Linked DNA regions of Homo sapiens: region 1 is linked to region 2. Evidence: promoter capture Hi-C in human tissues and cell types (Jung and others, 2019). All regions are on one chromosome and are shown on one strand. Each heading gives the region's core, a stretch centred on a gene start or on the middle of the fragment in contact. The rest is flanking DNA. Distances are from core to core; before and after follow the strand shown.

Evidence for each region. Contacts are between HindIII fragments. The study calls those that stand out against the background at their distance.
Region 1: a contact is called between a fragment that was not itself captured here and the fragment with the promoter of TLX1 in region 2, in 3 of the 25 tissues and cell types used here (lymphoblastoid cells, mesendoderm cells and neural progenitor cells).

Annotation. Positions count from the first base shown.
Region 1 is chr10:101,289,723-101,292,625 of GRCh38, forward strand. No RefSeq gene overlaps it. Among named protein-coding and RNA genes, the nearest start is that of LINC02681, 28 kb to the left of the region's middle. RefSeq lists enhancers at 1,198-1,737, 1,738-2,277. The HindIII fragment of the contact is 6,298 bases long and covers 1-2,903 here.
Region 2 is chr10:101,129,540-101,132,603 of GRCh38, forward strand. TLX1 (T cell leukemia homeobox 1) reads left to right here and starts at 1,761. Exons shown (of 3, transcript NM_005521.4): 1 at 1,761-2,570. The coding sequence starts at 2,003. TLX1NB (TLX1 neighbor) reads right to left here and starts at 1,607. Exons shown (of 3, transcript NR_130723.1): 1 at 1,247-1,607. The HindIII fragment of the contact is 11,337 bases long and covers 1-3,064 here.

The sequences.
Region 1 (2,903 bases), core at 121-2,620, 160 kb after region 2:
AGCATATTTGTGGTTAGGGCTGGCCCTGCCTTTCAGAAGCTCAGCCCTCTCACCCCACAGCCTGGTTTCAAGTTGTCCTAAGGACATGTGCCCTGGCCCCAGGAGCCACTCTGCTTCACACCTGCCCCCTGCCCACAGCTGACCAAAGACTTTCCTTTGCCACTCTCTCAATACAAGCCCTCTATTGCTCCCGTTCCTGATATAAGTTTCCTCCAAATCCCCACACTGTCTCCTGTGACCCACTTAAGAGACCTAACTCTCTGGACTTAAAATAGAAAACACCAAACACAAGCTTTTACACTTCCCGCTACCAGCGGAATAAAGGTTGCATCTTTAACAAAAACAACATAACCACCTACTAATAATAATAGTTGCCGACCACTTCAAAGTGGGTGGCCATTCACTTGCCCAGCTCTCCCCAACCCACTTCCTACCTGTCCCCAGGCTGTGGGTCTCTCGGGACGTGTGACGTGTATGGCTGTGTGCTGTGTATTTTTGCCTCCTCAGGAAAAACTCCAAAGTGACTGCTTGCCCTGGGCTCATCTATAATCTGGGGCATTGATCGGGGCCCATTGATAGCTGATTGTTTTCACACGTGACTCGGTCACATTCCTCTAATCTCCATCCTTCTGCTCAGTTTGCATGACAAGAAGTGGCCTCGGTGGAGAGAGGTCGCTCACCTCTGACCAGGATATAATTGGAAAAAGAAGGTCATTGCCTCCTTTGCTTCTAGGGCAGATCAGCTTCGTTCCATTTGTGTCACGAGCTCTTGCCAGCACACACTCTCAATGACATGGAGACAATGGCTGTGCCCCACAATGGAGCCCACAGAGATGTGCTCGATACAACACAAACACACCCCAGGATCCGCACTCACTCTCATCAGGACAGGCATGTACGACAACACACACACAATAGGTGCTCTCAGTAAACGCTGATGATAACACCAGTGATACACGGGATGATGCATACCCAGTGACATCCGCACACAGAGGATACATAAAAAGATGCATAAAGCAATGCTTACCCAGTGGTGCAGGTACCCAGCAACATACACATGCAGCGACACACAGACACATCCATGAGGGCAAATAGCCCAGGCCGAGCTACCACATCCAACATGAAAAAATATGTGACATTTTTCAGTGTACCCACTTGGCAGGTAGCCCATTATATCTTGTACTATTATTGATCTGCTTGGAGCCAAAGCTGACAGTGCCCCACTCCTGGTCTCCCCATGTTCCCATTCCCAGTGCCGCACCTCCAGGCAGTTTCTTCAGGTAATGCTCATGTGGGACTCTGTATCAGCGTTATCTGGGGGAGCTCTGACACCGGGCATGCTTCCAGGAAGCCCTGCCTCTACATACAAGCTTCTTACAATGCATGCGTGCGGGTAAACACGCTTATGTTAAAAATCTCCCTCAAGTAATTCTGCTATCCTGCCAGGTCGAGAACACTGAGCCGTCACCACCAGGCTCCCCTCTCCAGGGTGGCTAAACTTGCCATTGAGGGTGTTGGGCTGTATTTTATTTTCTCAGTTTGGGAAGGGATGAGGCCCCAGAACTGAAAAAAGGACAGTCAATGGCCAGGAACCGAATGAGTTAAAACCGGGCCCTATAGCCTTCATCCCTGGTGACTCTGGCTGGCCTCGTTAGCGCCCGCGCAGCACGCACAGAAGGACCCTTCGCGCAGGATGTCCCGGAGACTCGTCCACGCTCCCTAGCCGGGCTGCGAAGGCCCAGATCTCCCAGCGCCTCCATGCCGCGTCGGCCGCGGCCTTGGGGGTCTTCCGGGGACAGTGGCCAGCCCTGGGCCGGTGACCTAGCCTTTGGGCGCTTCCCCGGGGCTCTAGGGTCCCAGGGCGCCAGGGCCAACACCAGGAAAGCCAGAAGGTTCCTTCCTTTGGGGCAGGAGTTGGGGGGAGTCGCCGTACGCCCACCCTGCCACGCGGGAGGCCTCCGGGAGAGGGCAGAGGGCGCCGGGCAGGGACCAATCATCGGCGGCGACCGGTCACTCGCGCCCCAGCGAGGAGACCCTGAGATCCGCGGGGAGAGCACAGGGTCGCGCCGCCCCCTGGCGGCTCAATGACAGAGTTGAGGCCCGGCGGCTGGCGACTGCGGCGTCTGGCAGCTCCAGGAAAGGATCCCCCTTGTGAAGAAACGCCCCTACGAAGACTGTCCTGTCCTGTCCCTGCCCTCCCGCTCCCGCTCGCCTTCTCTCCCCTTCTTTATTTTCTCTCTTCCTCCTCCCCCCACCTCTTCCACTCTTCCTGCCCTTCCCCCCTCCCCGTCCTCACTCCCTCTCCCACCCCCATTCCTTTCTCTCGTCCTTCGCCCACCGCCTCCCGCCCCCGCGGGGCAGCGCCTCGGTGCACCCGCTTGGCAGTTAGCCCATTAGATCTCGTACTATTGATCCGCTTCTGAGCAAAAGCTGACAGCACCCCCTCCCGGGCTCCCCACGTTCCCATTCCCCGCGCCCCCCTCCAGGCAGTCCTGGCCTGCGCCTCCTCCCGCCCCCCACGCGGGCCGCGCCGAAGTCTCGCCCTCACGAAGGACGAGAACAAATGTAATTAAAGCGACCGGCGAGGGGGGTGTGCCCCCACCAACGCAGGCACGAGCGAGGGTCCCAGCGGCCGGCGCCCGGCCTGCCACCTCCCTCCCCCTCGTCCCCGCCCCCTGGAGCGGGAGCATTTGGGTTGAGCTGCGCCTGTCCTATAAATCCACATATAATTCTCCTCTTTCCTGTTCAGCTAAGGAAAATAAACGTGTAAGGCTGTTTCTGGGAGCCCAGCTCAGGGACCGCTCTAAATTCTCCTCTTATTGAGTAGGGGCTGGAAATCATTCAGCTCGGCGGCGCGCCCCAGAACCACCCCCTACCCCCGCTCCGGCCCGCGGCCGCGCCCG
Region 2 (3,064 bases), core at 511-3,010:
CAGGCTAACCCACAAAAGCAAGTTGAGTCTAGCTCCTCCATATTGATCCACACCAATCATAGCTATTCTGAAATGTACTTTCCTCACATCTGTAAAATAGGGAGAATACTCATCTCGAAGGATTGGTGTAGAGTTTATATTGTTCTCCATAATACTAACATCTGTCTTGTTGTATTTGCTTCTTTGCTTATTGTCTGACCCCCTCTATAGAATGTAAGCTTCATGAGGTCAGGACCTTTGTTTTGTTCACTGCTATGTCCCCCATGCCTAGAACAGTGCCTGACACATAGTGAGTACAGTACTCAATAAATATTATTGAATAAAGAGATACATTCTTTGTTATTCACCCAAGATGACCATATTTTGTTGTTTGGGGCTGTATTCTTCAGGAGAGAACAGAAATGAATAAGCCACTCTCTGCCTCCAAGAAGATCTCTTCAAGTGGAGGTGACAGACATGCCCAAAGCAAATAGATTGCAATAAGACTTGATGGGAGAGAATGTGAGTCTTCACATCCTAGCATCTTTCCAGATAGAGACAGGGCCTACCCAAAAGTCTAATCTGAAACTGAACTGAAATAGAACAGAAATAGATCCCAAGTGATGGAACCTGTGCCTTTCCCAAAGCTTGGCTTCTAAAAGGTAGCAAACATTTTCTACTGGAGAGGGGAAAGACAGGAAGAAGAAAAAGGGAGTTTCCTCCTTTTCTCTTGGGCTCTCAGCCAGACAGCCACTGGCAAAACGTTGGAAAGGCCTAAATTTGTCCTGGATGCACTTCCCTGATCCTAGTCCCACCAATCCCAGCCCCCACGGCCTTAAGCCCCTATGGCTCCCTCCCAAGATTCCAAACGTAAGAAAAGAACACACACCACAGTCCAAAGGCTTCTTGTCTGGAATAGCCAACCCTGGGGTAATTGTTAGGTGGAATGCAATCTGGTTGAATTCATTCAAACACTGTAGGAATTGCCTCTTTCGAACCCTGTAGGATTTTACTTCTTGACGCATCTGTTTATTTAAAACCAAAGGGGTATGTTGAGGCATGGGCACCCTGGCAGCAGACCCCAAACCAACCCTCTTGACTTGTGCCTGCCTTTCAGGATATGTTCCCTTCCTGAATTTGTCTAAGAAGGCTGAGTTGGGGGGTGGTTGCTGATTTTTATAACATATAGCCAGTTGTTCATAGGCCTGTGTTTTAAAGAAGGGCAAGCCTGAACTCACCGTCCTGCCTCAGGGCCTGGGCTCCATACCTGGGGAGTAGACAGTCTTCTACTTTCTAAAAAGCTGGACTTGAAATTTGGAGTAAATCTCCTGGTTGAGTGACAGGTGTTTCGCAGCTGAGCCCTTGAGGAGATTCTCCAGTTGGGCAGAGACATCCCTTCCTCAGACGCCTTGTGGGCTGGACTCCTTTGGCCCAGTTCAAAGTGAGGGGAGGGCTCCCAACAGGCCGGGAAGACAGTTGACTTCACCCTCCTTGGGTTTGTCTGTCTGTCCGTCTCTGGGAATGGTCGCTTCCTGTTTTCCCTTTTCCTTTTAAGCCTCGCCTTGTTCCCCTCTTCTCTCTCTTCATGAACTACTCCGAGTCTTGGTCTCCGTCCCTCTATCTCTGGCTCCTGCATCTGTCTCGGCTTCTGGCCTTCCTCTCCCCCTCCCCTCCCCTCCCTCGCGCTGTCATTCACCCCGCTCCTCTCCGCGCACAGCCAATGGAGAGACCCAGTCGAAACCGCGAAGCTCTCTTGCACCGGGCTTTTTCGCCTGGTGATTGATGTCCCAGAGTCAACAGCGAGCGAGCAGCCGGAGCGGGGAAGCAGAAGCCAGAGAGGGGAAGAATACGGCGCCCCCTCTCTCCCTCCCCTCCCCCTTCTACTTTAGCCTTTCTGCGCACTTCGCTTCCAAGTCTCCGCGCAGCCAGGAGCCGCTGTTGCCTCCCAGCCCCTGCTAGCTGCCCCCCGAGCCGAGCGCAGCGAGCGCCGCCGCCCGGGCCCCCCGGTGGGGCCAGGGCCAGCATGGAGCACCTGGGTCCGCACCACCTCCACCCGGGTCACGCAGAGCCCATTAGCTTCGGCATCGACCAGATCCTCAACAGCCCGGACCAGGGTGGCTGCATGGGACCCGCCTCGCGCCTCCAGGACGGAGAATACGGCCTTGGCTGCTTGGTCGGAGGCGCCTACACTTACGGCGGCGGGGGCTCCGCGGCCGCGACGGGGGCTGGAGGAGCGGGGGCCTATGGTACTGGAGGTCCCGGCGGCCCCGGAGGCCCGGCAGGCGGCGGCGGCGCCTGCAGCATGGGTCCTCTGACCGGCTCCTACAACGTGAACATGGCCTTGGCAGGCGGCCCCGGTCCTGGCGGCGGCGGCGGCAGCAGCGGCGGTGCCGGGGCACTCAGCGCTGCGGGGGTAATCCGGGTGCCGGCACACAGGCCGCTCGCCGGAGCCGTGGCCCACCCCCAGCCCCTGGCCACCGGCTTGCCCACCGTGCCCTCTGTGCCTGCCATGCCGGGCGTCAACAACCTCACTGGCCTCACCTTCCCCTGGATGGAGAGTAACCGCAGATACACAAAGGACAGGTTCACAGGTGAGTCCGGCCCGCGCGCTCCCCGCCTGGCCGCGGCCCGGGCTCCGTGCTACCCCTGCCCCGCCGGGTGGCTCCCCAAAGCCGGTTCTGCGCTCCAGGTCGCCCAGCTCTTCTTGGTGCTTCCCCCAAGTTGAGCCGCCCGCCCGATTCTATAACGCAGACTCGCCATGCTTGAAGAGTTCTCTCAGCCTGGACCCCTCTCTGTCTCCCGAAGGACCCCTGCTCGGAGGAGCTCTCCCTGGTCCCCTCTCCGGATCCACTAGCCGGGTCAGGCAGAGAGAAGGAGGCCATAGATTCAGGACCACCTTCTGCAGCTACTCTTGGCCTGGGAATCTTAGAGAAAGGGGTGCAACGTGAACAGTTTCTTCCGTCCTGGCTGCTGTTCTAGGACCCAGGAAGCGAGCCCCAGGATCAGACACAAGAAAAGAACAGGTTCCCCCACCTCCAGTCCCCTACACACATGCACTTCGCGCCCCTAGCTCCGGTGCCCGTGG